4 separate regions of the Homo sapiens genome follow, and regions 1, 2 and 4 are each linked to region 3. The links are contacts of gene promoters, found by promoter capture Hi-C in blood cells and fetal thymus (Javierre and others, 2016). All regions are on one chromosome and are shown on one strand. The core of a region is centred on a gene start or on the middle of the fragment in contact, and the rest is flanking DNA. Distances in the headings are between cores, read along the strand shown. Region 1 overlaps ROR1 (receptor tyrosine kinase like orphan receptor 1). Region 2 overlaps ROR1 (receptor tyrosine kinase like orphan receptor 1). Region 3 holds the start of ROR1 (receptor tyrosine kinase like orphan receptor 1). Region 4 overlaps ROR1 (receptor tyrosine kinase like orphan receptor 1).

What was found. The method cuts DNA at HindIII sites, captures the fragments that hold promoters and counts their contacts. A CHiCAGO score of 5 or more calls a contact.
Region 1: a fragment that was not itself captured here is called in contact with the fragment with the promoter of ROR1 in region 3 in 1 of 17 cell types (endothelial precursors); the score reaches 5.2 in endothelial precursors.
Region 2: a contact is called between a fragment that was not itself captured here and the fragment with the promoter of ROR1 in region 3, in 1 of 17 cell types (naive B cells). The highest score is 6.1, in naive B cells.
Region 4: a fragment that was not itself captured here is called in contact with the fragment with the promoter of ROR1 in region 3 in 1 of 17 cell types (naive B cells); the score reaches 5.4 in naive B cells.

The regions. Positions count from the first base shown.
Region 1 is chr1:64,005,085-64,012,105 of GRCh38, forward strand. It overlaps ROR1 (receptor tyrosine kinase like orphan receptor 1), which reads left to right. Exons shown (of 9, transcript NM_005012.4): 2 at 4,221-4,292. Among named protein-coding and RNA genes, the nearest start is that of ROR1-AS1, 100 kb to the right of the region's middle. RefSeq lists an enhancer at 1,633-1,927. The HindIII fragment of the contact is 3,413 bases long and covers 1,833-5,245 here.
Region 2 is chr1:63,928,607-63,935,725 of GRCh38, forward strand. The region is part of intron 1 of ROR1 (receptor tyrosine kinase like orphan receptor 1); the gene reads left to right. Among named protein-coding and RNA genes, the nearest start is that of ROR1, 160 kb to the left of the region's middle. The HindIII fragment of the contact is 3,864 bases long and covers 784-4,647 here.
Region 3 is chr1:63,769,143-63,775,714 of GRCh38, forward strand. ROR1 (receptor tyrosine kinase like orphan receptor 1) reads left to right here and starts at 4,875. Exons shown (of 9, transcript NM_005012.4): 1 at 4,875-5,366. The coding sequence starts at 5,276. RefSeq lists silencers at 4,942-4,991, 5,776-6,070 and an enhancer at 5,936-6,499. The HindIII fragment of the contact is 6,004 bases long and covers 1,999-6,572 here.
Region 4 is chr1:63,944,634-63,951,286 of GRCh38, forward strand. The region is part of intron 1 of ROR1 (receptor tyrosine kinase like orphan receptor 1); the gene reads left to right. Among named protein-coding and RNA genes, the nearest start is that of ROR1-AS1, 160 kb to the right of the region's middle. The HindIII fragment of the contact is 175 bases long and covers 4,743-4,917 here.

The DNA.
Region 1 (7,021 bases), core at 2,289-4,788, 230 kb after region 3:
GGCATGTGAAATGCAGTGTCTTTCTAAGAGCATGGTAAATGTGTTATTTCAAATACAGACAGTGACTTAGTAGCTAACCAAGTACATCCATGCAGAGGATGGCCACTGTCTGCCTTACTAGACAAAGGAGAGGTATGAAAGCCCTTGAGTCTCTATGCTGGACACTGTACAGGAGTCTTTTGGTCCATTAGTTAATCATTACCTCAGTCCTTTGCTGCTCCCATTTTATGGATGAGAAAATAGAAGTTAAATGATGTTCAGTAACTTTCTCATGATCACAAAATTAATAAGTGTCAGATAGTAGTGTTAAAATCTGGTGTGTATTTCCATTAAATAGTCTACTGTCTTCTAAATGGCACATACACATTTGCTATTACCATAATGCTTTTGGTGAAGAGAGGCTGCCAGGCTGGTGGTAAATATACCTGGAAATGTCTCATGCTTTTGCCAGTGGTGAGGCGAATAGGAATCCATCAGTGGAGATCCTACAGGGTCAAAACTTGTGGCCGTGTCTCTCTCTGAAGCCACTGGTGGCCATGGAATTGATGGAGTTCAGCTGAGATGTGCTTGATTTTTCTCACTTAAACTTCAGTTTTCCTTTCAGTGAAGAAAAAAAGCTTATTAAACATCACTTTGTGAGGGGAGATTATTAATATTCAACTTTCTACATAAAATAATCAGCCTTTATTTTAAAAAAATATGGCCTTGGAAGATATTATTTTTCAGGGAAGTTATTCATATTTTAAAATATTTTATCTGTTTTTATTATCATTTTATCTGAGAAGCTGAACACGTGGTTATCTAAAGGAATGGATCTTGAAGTTGAGAACAAAACTCCCCAGAATCAGCACAATCACTTAATGAGCTTGCGAATTGAAATTATCTTTGCTACAGCCCAAGAACTGAGTGGTAATTAGTGTCCAGGGACACGTGGGGAACAATTTCAGTGTTAGCAGTGCCAAGAATCTATTCATTTGTCATTGGTCCCAAATTATATTCAATCAGCAATTCAACTCAGCTTGGAAAAACCAAGTGACATATAGCTAACTGTCTATAAAATTAACACTGTAAAATGAAACTATATTTCTGGCTGTGAGCAGCAGTAAGATGAAGCTATGAAAATATTGCATGTAAATGCTGTCAAGGTTCATTTTAATCCCACCACTTTCCAACCTATGCTTCCTTCCCTGAAATGCCGCCTTGGCTGCCAACCTTCTATTCCCAAGCTCCCTGAAGTCTGGGTGTCGGGGTGTTTGATGAGCCTTTTCATAGGTGAACCGCAGCAGTCCATACTACTGAAAACAAGGGCTGTCATTATTGAAAGAGCCAAAGTGGGTGGCAGCAGCATGGGGCTCAGACTGGAGTTGGGGTTGGAGTCATATGTGGAGGGCCCTGAAATGTAGACAATTAGCTCTTCTGGGGAAAGCACCTGCACGAAATACCCGTTCCCCAAACAAGAGGTTGATAACAGAAGCACTGCTTTCCACTGTGGCTTTGTAGTAAGCATTTCTCCTACTTGGGTAAAATTTTCTTTTTGTTTTCATATTTTGGAATTAAGATCCCTGCCATACTGCCTATCTGACATCTGGTCCCCTTGAAAGAGTCTATGCTATTTTTGGCTCAGGACGTTGGAGGAAACCAGGGCCACTGTAGGTGGGGAGGGTATGTGTGGTTCATCTACTTCTTTCCCACCTGCTTCTAGGACTAGGAAAGAGGTAAGCCAAGGAGGTCTGCACAAACCAAACAATCCTTTTGTCTCTGCTGTGGCAGGGAGATAAACTAGAAGTATGCCTTTGCAAGGTCTCAGTGAGTCAACATCCTGTTCTTGTTCAAGCTTAGTCAGTGACGATGACATGTGGCCATTTGGCAGACAGTCACCATCAGTAAATATGGAAATACGAAAAATGTGCTTATCTCTGTGAAAAGGTGAGGCCAGAGGTAAGGTGAAAAAAAAAAGCCAGGTTTTACAGGCTTGAGTACTGGTCAGCATGGGCTGCCAGAAGGTGTGGAGTGCTAGAGTCAAAGAGACCTGGGTTTGAATTGCAATTCTTCCACTTAATAAAGTTCATCCTGCATTCTATCTCAGATCAATTTTTAGTGGCTACCTAGAGCACTGTGCTTAAAGGACTCTACGACAGATCCCAGGCTTAACAGGTAAACAGAGCCATAATTGATTAAAGATGCCTACACTGGATTGAAGTAGGAGGGATTGACAACTTGTATGCCTTATAGCTAATGACCCTGGGTCCTCTAAGGTCCTGTCCAGCCCTAATATTCTCTAGTAATGTTCTGAGTGTGTGTGTGTGTGTGTGTGTGTGTGTGTGTAGACATAGCCTGAGGGGAGGTTAGTATAACCCCATTACAATATATTAGTAGCGTGGATTAAATTTTCAAAAAACAAGAACAACAACCAAGATTATTTGTATATTACAGTCTATTATTAAAGAGTTTTAACAGCCCGTAAGTACTTCTAACAGTCCATAAGTACTTCATAGTGTATTATGTCCTTTAGATTATTGATTTGTATGTTTGCTTTGATTCATGATGGCTTTGAAAATTATATTTTAAGTTATTTACCACAAATGACTCTCTATATTCAAATACTTAGCTTTCATTTGTCTTGACCTAAAATTCCAATGTAGAGAAACGAATTTCTCTATTCACAGAAATGGTAACAATTCCAAACACGACCAGTGAAATTAGTTACAGGAGCAATGTTGTTCTTCCTTAGGAAGGCTATTAAATTTATTAGTCTAAGACTGGTCTTTCAACAAGAAAAGGAGTTTATGTTTGATTATGTGTGGTCATTTCTGCAGATTTGTTTTCTTGTTAATGTAGTATTTTAGGGGCGAGGTGTATTTTGCCCTTGTTCTTTTTTTTTTTTTTTTGCAATTTCCATTTTTATTTTAGATTCAGAGGGTACATGTACAGGCTTGTTGTGAGAGTATATTGCATGATCCTGAGGTTTGGGCTTCCATTGATCCCATCACCCAGATAGTGAACATACTACCCAATAGGTAGTTTTTCAACCCTTGCCCCACTCCCTCTATCCTTTTGTAATTCCAGTGTCTATTGCTCCTATCCATGGTACCTATGATTTTACTCCCACTTATAAGTGAGAACACATGATATTTGGTTTTCTGCTTCTCTGTTAATTCACTTAGGCTAATGGCCTCCATCTGCATCCATGTTGCTACAAAGGACATGATTTCATTATTTTTATGGCTACATAGTATTCCATGGTATATATGTACCACATTCTCTTTATCCAGTCCTCTGTTGATGGGCACCTAGGTTGATTCCATGTCTTCGCTATTATGAATAGTGCTGTGATGAACATATGATGCAGGTGTCTTTTTGGTAGAATAATTTATTTTCTTTGGGGTATATACCTTGTAATGTGATTGCTGGGTTGAATGGTAGGTCTATTTTTAGCTCTTTGAGAAATCTCCCAACTGTTTTCCACAGTGGTGGAACTAATTTACATTCCCCCAACAGTGTATTAGCATTCCGTTTTCTCTGCATCCTTGCCAGCATCTGTTATTTTTTGACTTTTTTTGTTTTTTTTGAGATGGAGTCTCGCTATGTCAGCCAGGCTGGATTTCAGTGGCACCATTTCAGCTCACTGCAACCTCCGCCTCCCAGGTTCAAGCGATTCTCCTGCCTCAGCCTCCTGAGTAGCTGGGATTACAGGTGCATGCCACCAGGCAGGGCTAATTTTTGTATTTTTAGTAGAGACGGGGTTTCATCATGTTGGTCAGGCTGGTCTCGAACTCCTGACCTTGTGATCCACCTGCCTCGGCCTCCCAAAGTGCTGGTATTACAGGTGTGAGCCACTGTGCCCAGCGTGACTTTTTAATGATAGCCATTCTGACTAGTATGAGATGGCATCTCATTGTGGTTTTGATTTGCATTTCTCTGGTGGTAAGTGATGTTGAGAGGGTTAATGTAATATTTTACATTTTAATTTTCAAGCCAGTGTTTTGAAGTAAAAATCTTCAAATCTGGCCAATAGATTGTTCATTTGGATGGCATCTAAAATGCAGGCGCCTCTACTGGCATCTAGAGCCACCATTCCAGTCTAATAAGCTATGGGATTGCCGTGGTCTCTCTCCAAAGGCAGGCCCTTTGGAAATCTCCTCTAATGCTTCTAACAGCCTATAAATTACTATATTTAATATTGCCCTTGTCTTTCTCCCTTCCCTTCTTTTTCTTTTCAGAAACAGAGCTGTCAGTCAGTGCTGAATTAGTGCCTACCTCATCATGGAACATCTCAAGTGAACTCAACAAAGGTACACAGTGGGGGCACACAGGGGAGGCGAGGAAAGAGGTGTGGAACTGTTTTTAATCCTGGCATGACCTTCTTTGAAATCAACTGTTTTTCAGATCACTGCAAGGAGGTGGGGGCCAAAATAAATCCCCAGCTTACTTTGTGATCATTTAACATTGAATTACTTGGGATTCTATTATTTCTGGAGAGTTTCTTTCCCCCCCTCGTTCCTTTTTCTTCTTCCTCTAAAATGTTCCACATGGTAAAAATGCTTCAAGATGTGAAATAGGGTCATTTCTGACCTTTCTGACACTACATCTAGTGGATCTTATTTAGGGGATTTGATTCAGCCCAAGCCAGGATTCATCAGAGCTGTTTGCTCGGTGACCTTTCACGATGAGCATTTGATGTGCTTGCAGGGTTCAGGACCGAGTATCTGGAATGTTTGTAATTGCCTGTGCATAAGGATGGCAGCTTCCTTTGTGCACGTGGGGAACAGGTTTCTGCTAGGAGATTGTTGTTTAGCATTAATTAAGCCCCGCCATATGTTAAGCATTGGGTATTTTATAAAGACCCTATGTCCTGGAGTGGTACATCAGGACACATTCAAAACCTCTGCAGTCTGGCTCAATCTACCTTTCTAGCCTTAGTTATCTTTATTCCCCTTTATGCATTTCCAGCCAAATTTCGATTTCTTCTTATACATCCTGTGCTTTTCTGCCTCTCTGCTCTCACCTTTTCACCTGGATTGCCTTCTCTTCTTTGCCAATACTCATTCTCCCCCTTTTGCAAGGCAACAAATTACTTCTCCCTCAAGACCAAGCATAAAATTTACATTATCCAGTCTTGTCTAATCCCTCCAGCTGGAAGTGGCCTTTCCCTCTTTGAAACTCCCATAGCTCTCTTTCTTCTCTGTTCTTCTCTTCACATTTTCTATATGATGTTATGGTGATTTATATACTTATCTCACCCTTAAGCTTAGAAGTTCCTTGTAGGAGGGTTTCTATCTTACTTTTTTTTTTTTTTGGTCTCCATCACAAAATCTAGCACAAACTCTTATTTGTAGGAAATTCTCAATAAATGTGTGTGGAATGATGAGTCACATCTTACCTGGTGAGAAGCCATAGCCATACATATTTGTGTGCAAATACATTCAGCAAACTTACTGAGTTTCTACTTTAGTTCAGGCATGATTCAAGGTTCTGAGATTACAGTGGTAAAGGGAGCTCAAAAGTCATTGTCATAAATGGTCTTTTATGATTAGCTCTCTATTGTCTACTGACATAGTTTGGTTGTGTCCCCACCCAAATCTCATCTTGAATTGTAGTTCCCATAATCCCTACGTGTTGTGAGAGGGACCAGGTGGAGATAATTGAATCATGAGGGTGGTTTCCCCCATCCTGTTCTCATAATAATGAGTTAGTTCTCATGAGATCTGATGGTTTTATAAGGGGCTTCCTCCTTCGCTGGGCACTCATTCTCTCCCCTGCCGCCCTGTGAAGAGGTGCCTTCTGTCATGATTGTAACTTTCCTGAGACCTCCCCAGCCATGTAGAACTGTGAGTCAATTAAACCTCTTTCCTTTATAAATTACCCAGTCTTGGGCAGTTCTTTATAGCAGCATGAGAACAAACTAATACATCTACTAATACATTCACTGTAAGTTGTATTTCCTCTCTGAGAAGAGATAAGTTTATTTTATAAAACAGCAATGGGTGAAGTTATTTTGCTGGTTATACTTTACTAGGCACTTTAGGATGGTGGAATGAAGTGAGATGTCTTTTCACCTTAAATCAAAGGACATTTAGAATATTTTTTCTATTGCCAAATTTGACCTGACATTATTTTTCTATTAAATATTAAATCAGGCACTCCATGTTACTCCTCTCCACCTCCAGCATCAACCACAATGCCTAGAAAGCAGATTTTCAACAAATATTTATAGAATATGTTTAATGGAAAAGAAGAAATAAAAGACCCTGAACATTAACTTAGTACCTGCTCTGTGCCAGGCACTGTGCTGGGTGCTTTTTTGTGAACTTATTCTGCAAGTTCCTTATGGTGCCAACAGAAAAATTATATCATTGCACACTGCATGTTATTGATCAGATTCCAGTTATGGCAATAGAAAAGCATCAATGTGTGCTAAGAAAGGCAGCAGAGCCAGCAGTCTAGAACCCAGCCTGCCAGACTTGGAATTTCTACCAGACCAGCACTGTAATTAGTAGTAGTTGCCCATTAAGAAAGTAGTGGTGTCAATAGTATGAACCTGCTGGCTGAAGGGAAGGATAAAGGCAGGCCCCAGACTCCTTTATTTGTTCAACACAGACTTCCAGAGAGTATGGATGGCTTTCTGGAGGTACGAGGATGCTTGGCATCATCTTTCTCTAGAAGGTAATTAGTGTATATTCTTTAATTTCCATTTTGAATGAGAGAGGAAGATCATTTGTTGATCAAAACCTTATCGATTCCTACTCTGGTCTAGGAACTCTATGAAAATTAGGATATAAAGATAAACCAGGCAAAGGCCCCTGTCCTCCATGAACTCAGAGACTATTTGGAAAGACTGATAGCTAAATGCATAATCAAAGCCTTCTGGTCAATTTGGTAGATTGAGCTTTCAAGAGACACTTCTTCCAATCACAGAGAGATACTAGTGAAATATACAATGAAGAAAATAATCCATTGCCAAGCTGGTACACAAAGAGGTGAAATCCCTAGGTTCCAGAAATGAAGAACAAGTTCAATACTA
Region 2 (7,119 bases), core at 1,466-3,965, 160 kb after region 3:
AAAAACCTGCTCTCAGTCTCTCCTAGGTCATGGCTGTGGTGTTTGAATCCTAATTCTGCCATTACTAGCTGTGGGACTTTGTCATCACAAGACTAGCTTCCCTGTTCTCATCTGTAAAATAAGGATGTTAATGGCATCTACCTACTAGAATTGTTTCAAGGAATAAATGGGTTAATACAAATAAAGCTCTTAGAACAGTGCCTGGCACTTAGTGCTCAGTGAGTCCTTGGGATAACCCTCTAGAGAGGCCAAGATCTGGGCTGTGCTGCGGACTGCTCTTTACCTTATCCTAACAATGAAAGGACACAGTGTGCCCTCTGTCAGGCCCTGTTACAGGCCGAAGCTCATAAAAGTCAGAGGGAGAGGTTTGGAAATTTAACCCAGCTGGGGCATCCCAGATGAAAAGGATTAGTATTTAAAGAGCCGTTACAGTTTATACTAGCAAACACACAAATAGGCAGATTGACACTTCCTGCCTCAGGGATATGGGGCTTCCACCCTTTCCAGACTCCACAATCCGCTTTGCTGTGTGTTTTCTCTTTCTTCCCTTTTCTTGTTTAATATAATGTTTGCTTCCTTTGCCCATCAGTAAGCACTGAATATTGGACATCTATCCTGTAGAGGACTGGGATTGCTGGTGTGATAAGTCATGATTCCTGACCTTGGGGAATTTTGCAATGTTACAAGCAAGCTGGGAAATAGACACGTATGTGTGAGCATGTTTACCCTGGCCAAATCCCATTTATTCTTTAAATCCCATCTCAAATATCACCTCCCCTAGGAAGCTTTCCCAGAGTTCTCCTAGCAGAGTTTCAGTTCTCTCTCTCTCTCTCTCGGTTGCTTTCATAAAACTTTGCCTTTTACCTTATTGGAGATGTGATTGTCTGCTTCTCTGACTCACATATTAGATTAGGAGCCCCTTGAGGGCAGAGACCATGGAAAAGCAGCCTAGAGGGATGTTATATAGTTCTTATTTATCTCCATAGCTTCTAGTACTTGGGGATGCAGTGTATGCTTATTGGTCAAAATGGTAAATAAATGTAAATGGTAAATAATAATAGCTAACACTGAGTACCTCTTGAAAAGCAGTTCTTATTCCTTCTCTGCTGTAATGATAACTAACATTTACTAAAGGCTTTCTTTTGTTCAGTATGCTTTTTCCTTCAGTAGCTCATGTGATCATCCTGCCTTAGGAGGAAGTATAATTAACAGATTATAAATGAAGAGACTAGAGGCACAAGGAGGTTTTGGGTAACTCATGCTAGAATTCAGATCCAGCAATCTGGCCCAGAACCTGGTCTCTTAACAACTAGATTAATCTGCCTCTCACTGTGAGTCTGTAGACAGAGTGTTAGGACTTTTTTTTATTATTATTATTATTTAAGTTCTGGGATACATGTGCAGAACGTGCAGGTTTGTTACATAAGTATACACATGCCATGGTTGTTTGCTGCACCCATGAACCCGTCATCTACATTAGATATTTCTCCTAATGCTATCCCTCCTCTAGCCCCCCACCCGCTGACAGGCCCCAGTGTGTGATGTTCCCTTCCCTGAGTCCATGTGTTTTCATTGTTTAATGGGTTCTCCTCTCTCTTACTTTAAAGGCAGGGATTCCGGCTTATTGGACTCTGCTGTGAACTGACTAAAGTCATTATCTGTTCAACAGTGGTCAGGTTCTTTCTGGTGGGTTTGGGAACCACATTTCCTCCCCAGCAACCCAAGTTACAATGAAAGCAAGTCATAGGCTAAATTATTCACAAGTACAAGCATTTATTAGCCAGCAAGCATAAAAATCATCGTAAATCTCTTTTCTTTAGGCTCCAAGTAATTCCTTCTTTCTGTCCTTGAGCCCCATGAACCATCCTTGCATAAAAAATTCAGGATAAGACAAGCATAATATTCTGATATCAGGGTTGGCCAGTCTTCCAGCTGCATCAGGTGGTAGACTTACTGGGTGGGACACACAAGACCTTACAGAAGTTTGGACCTAGGTACGACTCCTCTTGTTCATGCTAGAGTGGAGATGCCCATATGATGTTGTAAGCCAATCATATTTCCTGACCATCGCTCATTTTATGAATGAAAAATTATTTCTAATGCCCCATATTAACTGATCCTCATTAATGACTCCTCAAATGCAGATTTAGATAGCAATATGTGAAGTGGTTACAGTTTCCTCCTTTATATTCTTACCAACTTCTATTCACATGTGTGAATTCCTAATTAGTGTACTTGAAATGTTAATAACTATGGCAGGGATGTAGGTCCCTATTTAGGCTACACAAATGTTAACTATCCATCCTCAGAGTTAGATTAAATTTAACTTAGAAACACACATGTTCATCTCAATATCAGTACTCAAGAGCTTTAAAGTAAATCACAGAAGGCCGGATGCAGTGGCTCAGCTTACGCCTGTGATCCCAACACCTGGGGAGGCCAAGAAAGGCGGATCAGTTGAGGTCAGGAGTTTGAGACCAGTCTGGTCAGCATAGCAAAACCCCATCTCCACTAAAAAGACAAAAATTAGCTGGGCATGGTGGTGGGTGCCTGTAATCCCAGCTACTCTGGAGGCTGAGGCACGAGAATCACTTGAACCTGGGAGGCGGAGGTTGCAGTGAGCCGAGATGGCGCTACCATACTCCAACCTGGGTGACAGAGTGAGACTCTGTCTCAAAACATAAAGTAAAATAAAGTAAATCACAGACAATATAAGCAGAAGTGCTTAGAGGTTGTGTAGAACAGTGGAAAGAGGTGTACGTAGCTCTGAGGTCAGACAAAATGGGTTCGAATCCCAGCTTCTCTGTGGCAGTGGGCCAGTGACCACATCTCAGAACCTCGAGTACAGTAGTCTTCCTTTATCCAAGGTTTTGCTTTCCAGGGTTTCAGTTACCCTCAGTCAACTGTGGTCCAAAAATATTAAATGGAAGATTCCAGAAATAAACAACTTCTAGGTTTAAAATTACATGCTGTCCCAAGTAGTATGGTGAAATCTCACGCCTTCCTGCTTAGTTCTGCCTGGGACCTGCATCCTTCCTTTGTCCTGCGTATCTAAGCTGTCTACAATTTCTAGAGCCTATTAGTCACTTCATAGCCATCTGGGTTATCAGATAGATCCTCACAGTGTATACTCATCTTGGTATCACAGTGCTTGTGTTTGAGTAACTCTTATTTTATTTAATAATGGCCTCAAAGTGCAAGAGTAGTGATGCTGGCATATTACTATGTTCTGTTTTATTATTAGTTATTATTGTTAATCTCTTACTGTTCCTAATTTATAAATGATACTTTATCACAGGTATGTGTGTATAGGGGAAAATTGTATATATAGGGTTCTGTACTATACATGATTTCAGGCATCCACTGGGGTCTAGGAACGTACCCCCTTTGGATGAGGGGAAACTGCTATACTCATATTATGTACTCATAATAATGCCTACCTTACATGCTTGCAGTGAGGATTAAATTAGATAATATTTATAAAGTACCTAGCTCAGGGGCTGGCACTGAGCCATCGAATACATAAAGCCAGTATTATTAACCTCAGTTACTGGCCTGTAGCAAGATGCTCAATAGACCTGAGGAGAATGAGTGAAGGGGAGGTTGCCTGGCATGGGAGGAAGAGGTGGAAAAGGTGCAGGGGTGATAGATAGGATTCTTGGCTGGCCTATGGGGGCCCCAGCTGAGTGGGAATGGAGAGGAAGTGGGTTGATGGAGTCCCATTGTGTGCAGAAAGAGGGGACCTCTGCTTGGGTGGAAAATGAGGAAAAAAGGCAGCACTCAGGTCTCGGCAAGAATAGCCCGGCCTCCCTTCCTTCAGCCCATCTTCTGAACTAGAAAAAGGCTGTTGGGTGCTGTATGAGAAGTGAGGCCTACCAATGAGAGTCATCATCATGTAAATTCTCTACCATCCTGGCTTGGTCGGTAGCATTTCTACTGCCCCCAAAGCCAAGGAAGAATGATGCCCCTGATGGTTCTTCCCATTTAGAAGGAACTGCAGTTTACACACATTACCTTACCTGATTCTCAGATGTCCTCAAGTGATGTTATCATGATCTATCATTATTTTCCCTGCTTTATAGAAGGGAAAACAGTCCCAGAGGAGGTAGGTGACTCCTTTAGCCAGTAAGTGACAGAGGCAGGATTTGAACCTGCATCCAGCTGATCCTGTTGCTCTTGCTGTAGAGGAGAGGCAGTGTATGGGTATTCTCCCAGCTTGCTTGGTATTCATTCCACTGATTTTTACCTGGAGCTTGAAGACTGGAACTGGGTGGTAGAATGGCAGGTGTAGGGCCAGAGCTGGTAGAGTGGGTGGTGACAGTTCTGAGCCTTCTTTGCCCACCTGTCTGACAGCCCTTTATCTCTGTAATAATTGCCAAGAGTCCTGAAAGATGCCTCTTCCCTTCCCAGTTGCAAGGCCTGAGATTGAGCCCAGGGATCTTGCCAGCCTTAATTGACTTGTGTTGAAAATTATAAGAACTGACCCTCTTTTTAATTTTCCCTAAATTAAACACTGTGGAGGGATCAAATGGAAAATGACCAAGAGTCCTGAGAAAGGATTATCCATCTGGCATCTGATGGAACTTGAGAGACAGGGCAGCATAGTAGTGGTGCCTGCTGCATCTTATAGCTGTGGGACCTTGGCCAAGCTTCTGGACCTTTCACAGTGCGTTTCATTTCCTTATATGTAAAACAGGGTTAATAATTCTGGCCTCAGATGGTTGTGACAGTCATTGAGATTCTCCATGTTACTTGCATGGTACTAGGCAGGAGCTTAATCAGTGTCCCTTTACATCCCCAGAAGTGGGCTTAAATAGCCCAGTAGGAGTATGAAACCCTCAATCAAATGTCTGGCATATAATAGGTGCTCAATAAGTATTTGCTGAATGAATAAGCATGGTTGCTTTGCTCTCTTTCGTAAGTTTTCTAACTCCATCGCAGAAGGGTTAAGAGACCATTAAGATCTTGCCATTTCTTGGGCAGAGATACTAACATTTATTGAACACCAACTGCTTTGTACGTTTTATCTAATTGCAACAATTCTGAAAATCTTTACTATGCCTGTAATTTAAATGAAGAAATTAGGGCCTTGAGAGGTTCAATGAGAAAACCAAGGTCACCCAGCTAATTGGTGAAGTTGGGATCTGTAGGCAGAGCTGTGACTATAAAGCCTGTGTTCCCACCAGCAAATGTCATGCAGTGTTGAACATACACATCCCAGGTGAGACATGCCCTCTGCCTGGACTGAACATACAAGACCCAGAGCAAGTTCCGCACCTTCGTGTCTGGATGTGGGGTCAGTACAGCTTCTGCACAATGAGCCACAGTGAATAAGGAAGTACAGAGAAGCAGGGTGAGGGCTGATGGGAGCACCAAGGCTTGGGAGCTGGGCTCTGTCTCAGATTTGGCCTCCAGCTAGCTGCTGCTTTGCAGGTGCAGGATTCAGTTTGGGTTGTTGGTGGTGGTGAGGAGGTATGTCAGGGAGAGCAATAAAGCAGTGATAAACATCCCTCATGGTAAATCCCCTATGGTGAACATAAGGGATTTGATGATAAGAACGAGGTCAAGATCCTGTAGGTGAACTCCACTGGTATGGACCTGGGTGGCCGGTATGGAGCAAGAGGCCTTGAGCTTCCCAGTAAGGGCCTGGCTCTGAGCTAGACCCCCCTGGTTTGAACCGAGCCATACCAGTCACCCTCTGTGTGACTTTGGACAAGAGACTTACACTCATTAAGGCTCAGTTTGCTCATCTGTTAGATGGGCATGATGCTGGTGACACCAACCTCATGGACTTGCTGTGTGGATCAAAATGGTATCAGACCCATACAATCTTCAGCATAGTACCTGGCTCCTGTAGTAAGCATATAACAAATATTAGGTGCTATCATTGACACAAAGGCCACATTTTACCCTCAACTTCATTTATTTCCTAAATGGATCCTGTGGGATGGTTTTGACAGATAAAACTGTTTACCAAATTCTTACCCCGTGACTTGGACTTGCAAGGACTGCAAGGCGGAATCTAATTTAACACTTATTTAAATTTAACAGAAAGAAAACATTTGGGTTGGCTTTGTCAGGGTTTCCTTTTTTTAAAAAAGTATATTTTACAATTTTGGCTTTTGAGATATCAGGGTCTTGAGGGACAGACAGCTTACGTCTAATGTCTGGGCCTGAGAAGATCCTGTAAGAGACAGGTCTGTGGGGTCAAATTGGCCTTTCAGACTGAGCCTGCCATAGATTTTCTGAGGATTTAGATGATGTGAAGGGGAGTTAACCCATCCCACATTGTAAATTATTTTTTCAAAGGAAGGATGAGGGAGCCAAGTAACAATTTATCATGCTTCTTTTACATTTTGACTCTGCAAGAATTTAGCAATCTGCCATCCATCTCCAGCTCTGTTTGATTTGGGAGAATTTTTTTTTTTTTTTTTTGGGTAGAGGGGAGAATGATTGTAAACCAAATGTTGAAAAGTAGCCTGTTGGTTTTTTGTTGCAGTGTAAAATATGGTTCAGTAATTCATTGCCCAACCTCCCTCCCCTGCCAACACCACCACCAAAGAAACAAAAACTAATGTCCCTGCTCCTGGACAGCAAGAGTTAATTTTCAGCCTTTGGTTAGGAAAACAGAATGGAGGGAGCTGTATGAACTTTATGCTTATAGCTTAGTTCTGCAAGCCCAGGAGATCATTGGTCAGCATCAGATGAGCTAAGATGCAGTTCTGCAACTGCTGAGGACCAGGTCCTGTTTACCAGCAGAGGGCACAGCCTGTGCCAAGGTACAGCTAATGGGAAGTCAGAGACAGAGTGAAATGGTCAGGTTAATTGTAGAGGGTGGCACAGATCAGGCCTAGGTGTGCTGAACTAAGTAAAATCAAATTTCTCTAACGGAAACCCCAAAAAGTTATTAAAACACAACCTCCCTCTAATCATTTACCACATGGTTTTTAAATTCTGTGGGTAGTTTACCAAGAAGGCCTCTTAGGATTATATATAATGTCCACATACTTGATTACTGAGAAAGGAAACCAAGACTATATTTAATCACAAACTGTACAGTGTCAGAAAAAGTCCTGCTACCCTGTCTTGTCACTGCCCTGAGTGGCAGTAATTTATAGC
Region 3 (6,572 bases), core at 3,625-6,124:
ACGTCTTGTAATAGCTTCACTAACAATCCCTTATTCTTAAGTTTCTTACTTATGAATTTCTGATGACACTACACATATTATTTTTAGTCTTCTTTTCTACTCATGTACAAATAGACCTAAGAGGCTAATGGAACAAAATATATGAAATCAAGATTGTGCTAGAAATTCAGGTTGTATGATCACCAAATTTATGCTTCTCTCCTATCTCATAATATAGTTTAGAGAAAAAACAATAATAATAACAATTTTTTGAGTAAGTAACATGCTAAACACTTTTTTTAAAAAAATATATATTTCTACAGAGATGAGGGTCTTGCTATATTGCCCAGGCTGGTCTCAAACTCCTAGGCTCAAGAGATCCTCTCACCTTAGTCTCCCTAGTAGCTGGGATTATAGGCACAAGTCACCATGCCCAGCTCCCCAAACACTGTTTTGTGACTTTTGTATTCAAAGTATAAAGTACATTATTTTATACTAAAAATGACTTTATATGATTGGTTCTATTATCTGTCTCTCTCTCCTTTTAGCAGGTGAGAATGTTGTATCATAAAGAAATTAAACAACTTGTTCAGGTCATCTAGCCAGCTCCGTTTGATGTTAGAGTCCATTCTCTCTCTCTTTTTTTTTTTGAGATGGAGTCTCGCTCTGTCGCCCAGGCTGGAGTGCAGTGGTGCAATCTCGGCCTACTGCAAGCTCTTCCTCCTGGGTTTACACCATTCTCCTGCCTCAGCCTCCTAAGTAGCTGGGATTACAGGCACACACCACCATGCCTGGCTAATTTTTCTATTTTTTTGTTTTTAGTAGAGATGGGGTTTCACTATGTTGGTCAGGCAGGTCTCGAACTCCTGACCTCGTGATCCGCCTGCTTCGGCCTCCCAAAGTGCTGGGATTACAGGCGTGAGCCACTACGCCCAGCCCGAGTCCATTCTCTTAATCACTAACAATAGTAGCTAATAAATATTGGCTGCTTACTGTGTAACTGGTACTATGTTAAATTCTTTACAGGTATTAACTAATTTAATCTTCAGAACAAAGCTACAGGTAGGTATTATTATTATGCCTCTTTACAGATGAAGAAACTAAAATACAGGGACCCAGTACTCACAACTATTAAGAGCAGAGCAGGATTTGAATCCATGCAGTCTGGCTCCTGAACTCTTCCTGGTAAGCATCACACTACACCGTTTCTCCAAGAATAATTAATGGTTGTATTTGTTGGGTAAATCAAGCGGATGGCCCAAATGAGTCTCTCCCACCAGCAAGTTTTTGAAATGAAAGATAGTTTTCTATTTAATGCTCCCCTTGGCACCTGACCCCAATGATTTACTATTGCCCTGCTCTTGTTCCATTTTCCCACTATGCCTTACAGTGATAATAAACAGAACCGTGTGTGCCAGTGCAAGAGGCCAGGGGAGATGAGTGCCTCTGTAAGTAGCAGGAGCCTCAGCCAGTACCTCAGGTTGTGCCAGGCCCCTGGGAAGTGAGTAGCTTCACCTGGGTTCTCTTATCCATTTGTGTCAACTTCTGGCTTCCTAAAAGAGAGGGCATGGCCAAAAGAGGCTTGTGAGAGGAACATTTAGATTGCTTGGAGCTTTTATCATAGCCCACCAGGGGTTTGAGACAGTGGTGTATAGTGTAGAGAGATATTTGACTTGGGATGGAGTCCTGCCTTTTTGCTTTAATTTTTTGACTCTGGGCAAGTTTTAAAAACTCACTTCACTTAGCCCATTTGTTAAAAATGGGCTAAGACCAACCTTATTTTGATGATATAAGTAGGTTCATGCAGTAAATAATAATAACGATAATATCTGCCATTTATTAGGTGTCTCTCTGTGCCAGATACTCATAAAAGCACTTTCTAAGAGTTAACTCAATTAACACTAACCACAGCATGAAATAGGTGCTATTATTATCATCATCATTTTACAGGTGAGAAACAAAAGTACAGGCAACTAAGATATTTGTCCATAGTCACTCAGCAGAAACCAGAGAAGCTGAAGCTTGAGACCAAGCAGCCCAGCTCCCCAGCCTGTGCTCTTAAACATTGGCATTTACTGAACTTGCATAAATAAATAAATATACATATACACATATATATATTTTGCATATTATATATATTTTACCTCTTTTACTTTTTTAAACAGGAAAAGCCTTTTCTAACACCCCCCCACCCCAGCATTTTTTTTTTTTTTTTGAGATGGAGTCTTGCTCTGTTGCCCAGGCTAGAGTGCAGTGACGCTATATCCACTCACTGCAACCTCTGCCTCTCAGGCTCAAGTAATTCTCATGCCTCAGCCTCCCGAGTAGCAGGGATTACAGGTGTGTCACCACGTCTGGCTAATATTTTGTATTTTTTTGTAGAGATGGAGTTTCACCATGTTGGCCAGGACGGTCTCGAACTCCTGATCTCAAGCAATTCACCCACCTTGGCCTCCCAAAGTGTTGGGATTACAGGCATGAGCAACCGTGCCAGGCCATTGCTAACCTTTTCTTTGGAAACTTGTGTGCTATAGCTAAACTGAAGGAATCTGGGATGATTTGATGATGGTCCTTACCCAGGTCTGGACTGGTAGGTCTAGGTCCTAGTTTTGGCTCTGGCCAGCTTTGGGCAAGGCGGTTTCACTCTCCTAAGTCCCACATGTCTCCTGTATAAAATGTTGAGGGGGGTGTACTAGTTAATTTCCAAAGCCCTTTCCAGGTCTCACATTCCTTATGTCTATGATTCTGTGATTAAGTTCCTGGAAGTTTAAGTACTGATAAAAGTGCCATTAAGTTCTGTATACTCAGCACTAGCAGCTGTCTGTTACCTAAGATACCTGGGCCTAGGAGTTATAGGGTGGGGGCTGGGGGCAGGGTGGGTGGATGAGAAAGGCTCCTTGTCTGACAACTGTGTGTATTGACTGTAGACAACAGAGGACTGCCCAGCACTGTGCAGTGTAACTGAGTATCCTCTGATTTCTGGGCTGTGATATACTAAGACTGACCATCAAAGACTGTTTCCCAACAAGAGAACCTTGTGCAGTAAGTTCCTCAGGCAAGAAGCGAGATAATTGGGACAGGATTGAATAGATCTCAGGCAGAGAAACTTGGGGGACAGATCAATGTAGGTAATGAACTGGTTGACCCAAGGCCTCTCTGTCTATCATTTTTTGACCTCAGGTCAGAGCGATAGAAAGGGGGAAAACTACCGACACAGCTCCTGCCATGAAGTCCTGGAGAAGAATAAGTGACTGTTTGTCCCGCATGGGTTAGTCATTCACCTGCCTGAAGGCAAAGGGCTGGGAGTCTGGAGTCCATGACCTGCTGGGACATACTTTGGGCTGCATTTTTTCCCCCTTCTAATGTCTCAGCTCTCAGGGATCTGCTTTTCCTGGTGCCAAGGAGTATGGATGAAATTTTGTCCCTCCTCCATGCACCCCTATAAAACAAATATGATGAGAAATTAATATTTTCCAAATGGTGACCTAACCTTTGTTCATTAATTGAGCTCCTATTGCATTCCAGGTACTGTTAGAGGCCAGCAAGATACCTAGATGATTGAGACAGAGTCCTCGCCCTCCATGAAGTGACTGTTCATTTTAAAACCCTAAAGCTGGGTTCTTAGAGGCTACTGCAACAGCAACAACTCCCGAGTGAGTGCTTATCATGTGCCAGGCTCTGGTTACAGGCTTTAACTCTCTCAGTGGAAACAGCCTGAGTGCTGGCTTGGCTACCCCATGTCTGTGAGACTGTGGGCAAGTCATTTACTTTCCCTTTGAGTTTCAATTTCTAAAACTGTAATATGGGGATAATATATGTAAAACAGCTAAGAAGTATATACTTTTAATGACTCTTTTTAGTGTCAATGGAGGATTTGTGAGCAAATGCATATAAAACACAAGGCAAACAGGAGGTATTTAGTAAGTGGCCACGTGATTATTGAGAGACTATGGGCTTCTTCCTGTTCCTCCAGAGCAAGACTGACAGGTGTCCTATTACCCTTGCATCTTCAGAGCCTAGAGCACAGCCCTGAAAACAGCAGGCGCTCACCACTTTTTATGATCAAAGGCAGTCTCTACAGGGAAAGTCAAATCATTATGGGTATTTATGAATTACAAAATCCATAAAGTTAAACCAGGAGAAATGGACAAAAACACACTCATTGTAGAGGTCTTTAATGATCCCTTGGCTCATGGCAGAGCAGCTAGACAAAAAACAAACAAACAAACAAACATGCAAAGATTCAGAAGGCCTGAAAAAATAATGAATACAAAGAAGATAAATCGATACAGTATTCTATCTTCACATTCGGAAGACAAAAACACCTTTCAAAAAACCATGGGACATTGGCAAAAATAACCACAGATAATCCTCAATAAATCTTGCCAGGAGGCAGTACAGATGACATTGAATTCAGTGAGACTACAAATTAAAGACAAAAAGGCGAAGTATAAATTACTTGTGTAAGAACTCTCTCAACTCTTGGGTCCAAGAAGAAAGCAAAAGGGAAATTGTATGATAGCAATAAATGTGCCATTACCCAGAGTCACACAGCTAACAGTGACACAGCTGAGGCTGCTAGAACCTGGGTCTACTGTCGTCCAGCCACGAACTGGCTTGAGATCCCGGATAAGTCTCTCTGAGCCTCGGTTTCCCCTTCTGTCAAGTAGCCTCGAAGGTCCCCGGCGCTCGGTTCGGTGGCGAGTTTGAGGAGTGTGGGGGAGGGGAGGGGAGGGAGCGTGCCCGAGACGCGGGAGCCGCGACCGCTTTCTGCGAAGTCGGGGAGGGTGCGGGCGTTGAGAGGCTGCAGCAGAGGGCGCTGGGTCGCCAGCCTGGGCCGCGTCTCCCATTGGTCGGGGCTGGGGCGCTGGGCTGGAGAGTTGGTGGAAAGTGACAAGTTGAGCGAGAGAGGGAGCGTGGAGAGCTGGAGCAGCCGCCACCGCCGCCGCCGAGGGAGCCCCGGGACGGCAGCCCCTGGGCGCAGGGTGCGCTGTTCTCGGAGTCCGACCCAGGGCGACTCACGCCCACTGGTGCGACCCGGACAGCCTGGGACTGACCCGCCGGCCCAGGCGAGGCTGCAGCCAGAGGGCTGGGAAGGGATCGCGCTCGCGGCATCCAGAGGCGGCCAGGCGGAGGCGAGGGAGCAGGTTAGAGGGACAAAGAGCTTTGCAGACGTCCCCGGCGTCCTGCGAGCGCCAGCGGCCGGGACGAGGCGGCCGGGAGCCCGGGAAGAGCCCGTGGATGTTCTGCGCGCGGCCTGGGAGCCGCCGCCGCCGCCGCCTCAGCGAGAGGAGGAATGCACCGGCCGCGCCGCCGCGGGACGCGCCCGCCGCTCCTGGCGCTGCTGGCCGCGCTGCTGCTGGCCGCACGCGGGGCTGCTGCCCAAGGTAAGAGGCGCCCGCCGGCCCCCGCCCGCCCAGACCCCCTGACCCGTGGCCACCCTTCCGCCGTCCAGCCGGGCGCGGGACACGCAGGAAGCGCCGCGCTGGCTCCGGGGCGCGTCCGGCCACCCGCCACGGGGCTCGCCGGCGCCGCCAGGCCAGGGTTTGCCCCGGAGCCCCGCCAGGCCAGGGTTTGCCCCGGAGCCCCGCGGCGGGCCGGGGCGCGCCCAGGGACTCGTTCCTCGGTGCGCAGCAGCGATTGTCAGCGCTGACAGGAAGCGTGGAGGGGTTTGAGGGTCCTGGGGGTGATCGGGGCACTTCTGTGCAGGGCGTCCCCCCTTGTCTCCCTGGACCTCTAGCGCGCCCCAGCCGGTGTTCAGGCAAGTCTATCCTGCCCCCAAGTTGCGAGCCGGCCCGGAAGGCGCGGTCCAGGAGGGAGTTTGGATTTTCAGTGGTGCTCGCCAGAGCCCAGGCGGCTCGCGGATCGACGCAAACAAAAGCCCTGTCCTCCTGGGGCTCCGGCGGCCTCGCATCGCCACCGCCCCCGGCCCTCCGGCCCTCCCGAGAGTCATCATAGAGGCCAAAACTTGTGCGCCGCTGCAGCCGCTGCCACTTTGTGCAAAATGTGCTGTCAGAGGCGGCCTGCGGCTCCAAAGTGCTTTGGGTGTGCACGCGCGCGCGCGCGCGTGTGTGTGTGCGTGTTACAAACAAGAGGGGGAAAAGCCATCTAATGCATATTTGATTTTGGTAATCTCTAAAGACAATCGCAACAGTTAGAGAAAGACTTCACCGCAAGCCGGAGCGTCTTAGTTCGCTGCGGGAAGCTGGGGTCCTTGCTGCGTCTGAGCCGGTACACAATGAGAGGGAAGAGCCCGGCTGAGCCTGTGGAGACAACCGATTCATTCTTTGGAGGTTGGAGGGGGAAAGTTGATTAAAGTCTCCGGGGTCTCGGGCCTCACTTTTAACATGCATCCCTTGAGGGGGTGAGGAGCCTTTGGATTCTGCCCTCCCCCACTCCCAGCCCTAAACCTGAGCGGATAAATAGATCTCTGCTCTTTTATCATGCATCTTTCATTTTTAAGTTAGCACTGTGTTTAGGAAAAGAAAAAGTTCTGCGCTACTTAGCAGTTGAGAGGAAAAAGATGTATTCACTACATAGACTACGAATGCAGAATTAGTTTTTACTAAAAGTTAGCTGACTTTCTTGGTAGA
Region 4 (6,653 bases), core at 3,580-6,079, 180 kb after region 3:
GAAATTCTAATCATTTTTCTTCTATCCTCTCAGTGGTCTCCTTGTTTTAAATGGAAAGATGTTGGATAAAATTGTGAGTGTGGTTCATGGGATGAGGGTGCTCTGGATGCAGAGTCAGGAGACCTGGCTTCTCACCCAGCTCTGACACTGACATCATGGATACATCCTTGGCCAAATCTCCTAATTGCCTTGGGCCTTAATTTCCTTGTCTGAAAAGTTGGGATAATCATCTCTTCTCTGCTTTTCCCACAGGGGTGTTATAAGGATAAAATGACCTAATTCAGTGTCTCTCAACCTCTCTTGCATATTAAAATTACCTGGGGAAGTGTTAAAAAAATACCTTTTGTCAGGCCCCACCCAGACCAGTTAGAATCCAGGGTGACCTGGGCTTTGGTAATTTTTTATATCCCAGGAGATTATATTGTGGAAGAAGGGTTGAAAATCATCGAACATCCAGGCGATAATATATTGGAAGGCCTGAGAATGCAAATTATGGGAAAAGGTTAAAACGACCCACATTAGTATGGTCCTCTGTAGTTTTCAAACGGTGTCACTTGGAGACTTGTTAAGGGTCTATAAGGCAGTGGACTTAAAACTTTTTTGACTGTTAAACTAAAAAAGATCATATCTCGGTATACACATGCAATAACATGTAAATACACTCAGTCCCATGTAAATACAGCTTTCACGGAACAATATTTTCTGTGTGTGATTCACTCTAATATTTTTTATTATTTTCCATTTCATTGCAGTTTAAACTAGTCCATTTCATTTCTTTCATTTTATGTGGGTGCAGAGCCATGGAATTGATTTAATGATCTGTTGTACAGTCCCCTGACCTATAGTTTGAAAAACACTGATGAAGAGATGGCCTATTTCTGGGGAGCAGGCTCACCCATTGTTTAATGTTGTTTCCTTCTAGTACCAGAATCAGTCTACTGTTGCCTGGATCGACTTTCCCACTCTCCCTCCCTTTTATACCTTTACTTGCTACATCAAACATACCCAGCAGGGTTGTCCTGGTTCTACACTTATTTGGCCCTTAATTGGGTGACTTAGAGCCTTGCCTTCTCTTCTGCATTCTAATCTCTGAAGTGATAGATCTTAAACATTATACTTTATTCCTCACATGAGATTTGTTAAACAAATTCAAGACATATTGTCAATTGAATTACATATAGTTTACTAAATAGATTCTTAGCAAAAATACAAGAAGGTGCAGTTCATAGGTTGCTCTAGCTGCAACATGGTGCTAGTGATAATTTTAGTCCCTCTACTTTGGAGAACTGGGGAGCCCCCAGGCCAGATCATAGAGGAATCATCTCCCTCTTGTTCTGCCGGATCTTTTCTTCCATGCTTCCTGGTCCTCCTAGGCAATTGTGCTATCAGAAGTAAGTTTGTTTCAGCTACAGAGAATTCTCAGCTTCTCTCCTGCACTCATTAAAGTTTGGCTGTCATAGCCCAGACACATCCTCTGTGACATTTCTTTATCCCTGGCTTGGTACTGCTTCTGTTGGCTGGTGTGTGGCTCTGGGCAGGTGCTTGAGGCTCATAGTTCTCTCTCAGGACACACACACTATAATATTCAACCTAATCAAATAGCTATTGGTTCCTCCTCTCTGCTTTACTGCCAAGGGGACTAGAAGGTTTGGGTATAAATTTGGGCAGGAAGAGAACATCTTCCAGATATAACTATCTCTGAAAACCTCCCCCAGCGTTTTTCCCCAATGTCTGTTTAACCAGTTTTGTGTCTGCTTAATTTATGCTATATTGCCTCTAACTTTGTTTGACAGTGGCACAGAATCGAATGTATTCAAGTTAAAAAAATGTTTTTGTGGTGTACAACATATGTTTTGATATATAGGTACAGTGTGGAATGGCTAAATCAATTTTCAACATATACTAATTGAGCATATACCTCAACTTTTGTTTTTGTCATGTAATTTTTAAGGCAATCTTTGAAGAAAGATATAATTTCCACTATATAAAGGAAGTAACAGAGGCTCAGAGGGGTGAGATGATTTATATGACTATTAAGGGTCAGAGGTAGGATTTGAATTCAGGTATTTAGATTCTAAATCATGGCCTCTTTCTTCTACATCCAGGCTCTGTATATCTGTGACAGGCACAGGTCATCCTTGCTTCCTCAAGGCATGTTGGATCCAAGACAGAAAAACTGGTACAAAGGATATCCTAATGCCAGACGTGATCTTGTCAAGGGTTGAGGTGGTGGATACCACCACATGCCTGGCTCCTAACGGAGGGAGTAAGGCTTCACCAGACCTCTGACCCTTCTGAAGCCATACCTTTCACAGTCAGGTTTGCCTGAAGCTACCATGATTCACCAGCATACCAAATCCTTCCTGCCAGTGGAGGCTACATTAGGCTGGGAAAGGAATCTTGTGAAAAAATAGATCTACTTCTCCTGACCCGTGTTCTCCAGGGGATTCAGGGAGTCCTCTCTCAGACTGCTGTCTCGGTTCCACGGTGATTGGCGTCCTGAGTAAATACTCTGATAGACTAAACACACGTTGCCCATGTTGGCCCAGGAGCAGCAGTCCGGGAGCGCGCCCAGTACAGTCCCCTGTATGGCAGCCCAACTTGTTAATCATCGCACTGGCAGGCTAGCCAGAATGGGGATATTTAGCTTGGGGCTTATGCATTACCATCTATGCTAATATGGCATTCTTAGAACTATAATTTCCGTTCTGACCTCCATGGATACTCCTTATAGAGAACACAGACATAAAACAATTCTTGAAATGTCAGGAAGAAATTGCATCTAATGGAGGGTACCTCTGCCAAGGAAAACATACTTCAGTGTTAAAGCATTCCCATCCAAACAGGGAAATTTGAAAACTGCTCTTGGGTCTGCATTGAAGCCTGAGCATTTTTCCATGCCCTTTAATAACCTGTAATGTATGTACCAGCCAGCTCCACTGCAGGCTCCCCATCAACCAAGAGGGCTTACTGTGAAGGAGGTGGGGTGGCCGGCGGGAGGTGATAGCTGAGACCTGTGTGAGCTGGTGTCAGCTAGAAGACCTTCCTGGGGGCTAAAGCAAGAAGATTTATAATGGGAACATATACCACATGACATAATGTCCTACCTGCATCTGTTACAGTGGAGAATATGATCCCCAGTTGGGTCTTGAACCCTTGGCCCTCCTGATACCTGATACCAATGAAGCCTATCCTCCACCCTTTAGGATTTCATATTAGGAGACACACAATCTGTCTTCTGAAATCATGCTGGTGAACAGATACCACTTAGTAATAATAATATTATGTTGCTAATAGTTGCTGTCATTATGAGTGTTTATAATATGCCAGGAATAAATACTTTACCTAAATTATCTCATTTTTACCCTGTCAGTAACACTGCATTGGGTACTGCTGTTTTCTCCACTTTACAGAGAAAACTGCCGCACAGAATCGTTAGATCACTTGGCCAAGGTCACACAGGTAGTAAGTTACTGACGTGGAATTTAAAATTGATTTAGCCAGTCCACACTGTTCTAGACCTGTGCAAGTTGATCCCCTGAGATAATAAAACAAACAAACAATGAAAAGAAATTATCTTATCCTCTACACATTTCTATTTTATGTAGATGTTTTACAATAGATACTATAATAGTACAGAACTTCATGTATGTAAGTTCTGAATAAATAAATATACATATATAATAGAGGTTTGTGGTCCAATTTTTTTTTTTTTTTTACTGATTTACAAACATTTGGAGATTGCTATACTTAACTATAAAGTTCAATGGAAAGAAGAGAGTTTCTTTTCCTGATAACTGATATTGATAATATTATGGGAAATCTGATACTTCCAGAGGGTATAAGCCAGATATTTTTGTCTCATTTGCTCACCACCATATTCCCAGTACCAACCCTAATGCCTAGTAGATGTTCAGTAAAGAAGATGGCCATGAAGTTTGGAAACCAGTGAACATACATAATGCTGACTGAATGTTTGTGTCCACTCTCTGCTGCCACGGATTCTTATATTGAAACCCTAACCCCCAATATGATGGTATTAGGAGATGGGGCCTTTGGAAGGTGATTAGGTCATGAGGACAAAGCCCTTCTGAATTGGATTAGTGTCCTTATAAAAGAAGGCCCAGAAAGCTCCCTTATTCTTTCTGCCATGAGATTTACAGCAAAAAGAAAGCCCTGTATGAACCAGGAAGCGAGGCCTTACTGGACTCTGAATCTGCCTCTGCTGGTGCCTTGATCTTAGACTTCCCAGGCTCCAAAACTGTGAGATTTAAGTTTCTGTTGTGTATAAGCCACACGGTCTATGATATTCTGTTATGCCAGCCTGAACTAAGACACACAGTAAATTTTTCATTGCTATGACATTATAACTCATGATATGTTCTGTGACATTGTACAATATGCTTAATGAGCTACCCTACATGTGCTCCAGTGTGCTGTGCAGAACTGCAGTGAGCCAGGTGTACTTTCCTCAAGCCCCGCTCAGGCATCTGAACCATTCCATATAAAGAAGGCAGGAGTGAGTGCTTGCACAGAAAGGGGTTAGGGCAAGTCGGGGACATGGAAAAGAAAAAAGGAAAGGCTAAAATAGACGAAATCAGGTCCGAATTCAATTTCATCAGGTGATTTTTCCTGATTACCTATTGCTCCTTACCTTCTTACCAATGACTTTCTTTTTTCCCACTCCATTCCCCACCCCCCAGAGAAGGAAAGGTTTTTGCCTGAGTGGAGGTAATGGGGTAAGCTTCCATTAAGGTGGAAGATTTGAGCCTGGCTTGGGATAGGCAGGAGAACAGCCACATTTGAATAATGTTTCTGTAGAAACCTGAACTTATTTCATTCTGTGAGATAGCCTGGTTTTCTGCCCATTTTGTGAATTAAGAAACAGAGGCTTAGAGTGTTCCAGCAGCTTTCCCAAGCTTACCTGGAGGGTTTCCTTTTTACGGGTGCTATTTTCTTTCTGCTTCACTCCTCCAGGAGCTGGCCCACATTCACAGAATGTGTCTGGAAAGTGCCATAATTCCTCCAGGTGCAAAGGGCTTAGTAATTTACTCCTTCAGTCTCCTGCTTGATTGTCTCAAAATTGAAAAGGTTTCATGCCATTTTCAGACATGCTTAAGTTTCTCAAAGGGGGTAGCCCGGGAACTTGAGACTTCAGTAGTTTTTCCTTCTTGAATGCCCCTGTCCAGCCAGTGCCCTAACTTGTACAAATCAAGGAAAATGGTTTGTGTGGGGTGGAGGTGGGGTGAATGTTTTCATTTTTCATTAGACGACATTCGTAAACATACTTGTGTTTTCTGGGTTGGTCCAGTTGTCTTGACCTTCGTTTTGTAAGTATCTTGAAGATTCCTTTCTCATCCAAATCTGTTAGAATCACCGCAGTTTCCAAAGTTGGCTAAACATCAGAATCACCTGAGGTGCTTGTTAAACACAGGGAATGTCCTGATAGCCTCTGGAGATTCTGATTAAGTGGACCAGTTACCAGAAAGCAGCCCCAATCCAGGCCCCATGAGAGGATTCTTGGATCTTGCGCAAGACAGAATTCGAGGCAAGTCCACAGATTAAAGTGAAAGCAAGTTTATTAGGAAATTAAAGGAATAAAAGAATGACCACTCCATAGGCAGAGCAGCCCCAGGGCTGCTGTTTGGCTGTTTTTAACGGTTATTTCTTGATCATATGATATATTAGGGGTGGATTATTCATGAGTTTTCTGGGAATTCTTCCTTTCAGACCATATAGGGTAACTTCCAGATGTTGCCATGGCATTTGTAAACTGCTGTGGTGCTGGTGGGAGTTTAAGTATGGTAATGCATTATAATTCACATATAATGACCAGTGAGGACGACCAGAGGTCACTTTCATCGCCATCTTGGTTTTGGCTGCCTTCTTTACTGCATCCTGTTTTAGTAGCAGGGTTTTTGTGACCTGTATTTTGTGCCAACCTCCAATGTCATCCTGTGACTCTGAATGCTTAACCTCCTGGGAATACAGGGCAGGAGCTTTCAGCCTCATTTTACCCAATGCCTATTCAAGATGGAGTCACTCTGGTTCCAAGGCCTCTGACAGACCTAGGGCAAGTTCCCCAAATGTTTGTTTTTAACAAGCACCACAGGTGAATGCAAGGGCAGCCAGATTTGGGAGCCAGTGAGCTATCAAACACTTTTAAGGGGAATACATGAGAGATTCCCTGCAAGAGTTAAACTATTTTGATACCACAGTGAAGGGAGCAGAAAATGACATTGAAATTTCATCAAAGCTATACACCTACACAGGTGAGATTACCACTCATCATGGGAAAGGATGATGAAAATACAACCAAAAACCTTCATCGAACAATACTCTTTACTACATTTACTAGAAAATCCTAGCAAATTCAAAAATAACATGTGAAATAAAGCCCTGAACTTTTCATCCTTTAGGAGCAGGAAGTTCTCTTTGGGGATTGGCTGAAGTAGAAGGAGCTCTGCAAGAGCCAGTAAGTGGTTCCTTGTCTGTGGTTGTTAGCAAAAGAATGACCATGGCTCACCTCAGAGGTCACAGAGAAGGGAGGTAAAGAGGACAGTTAATTTCTTTACCAGGATCTAATTTATCATTTGGGTTTTCAGAGAATGTGGGAGGTGGCTGTTGGGCTTGTTTTCTTTTGCAGCAAAGCT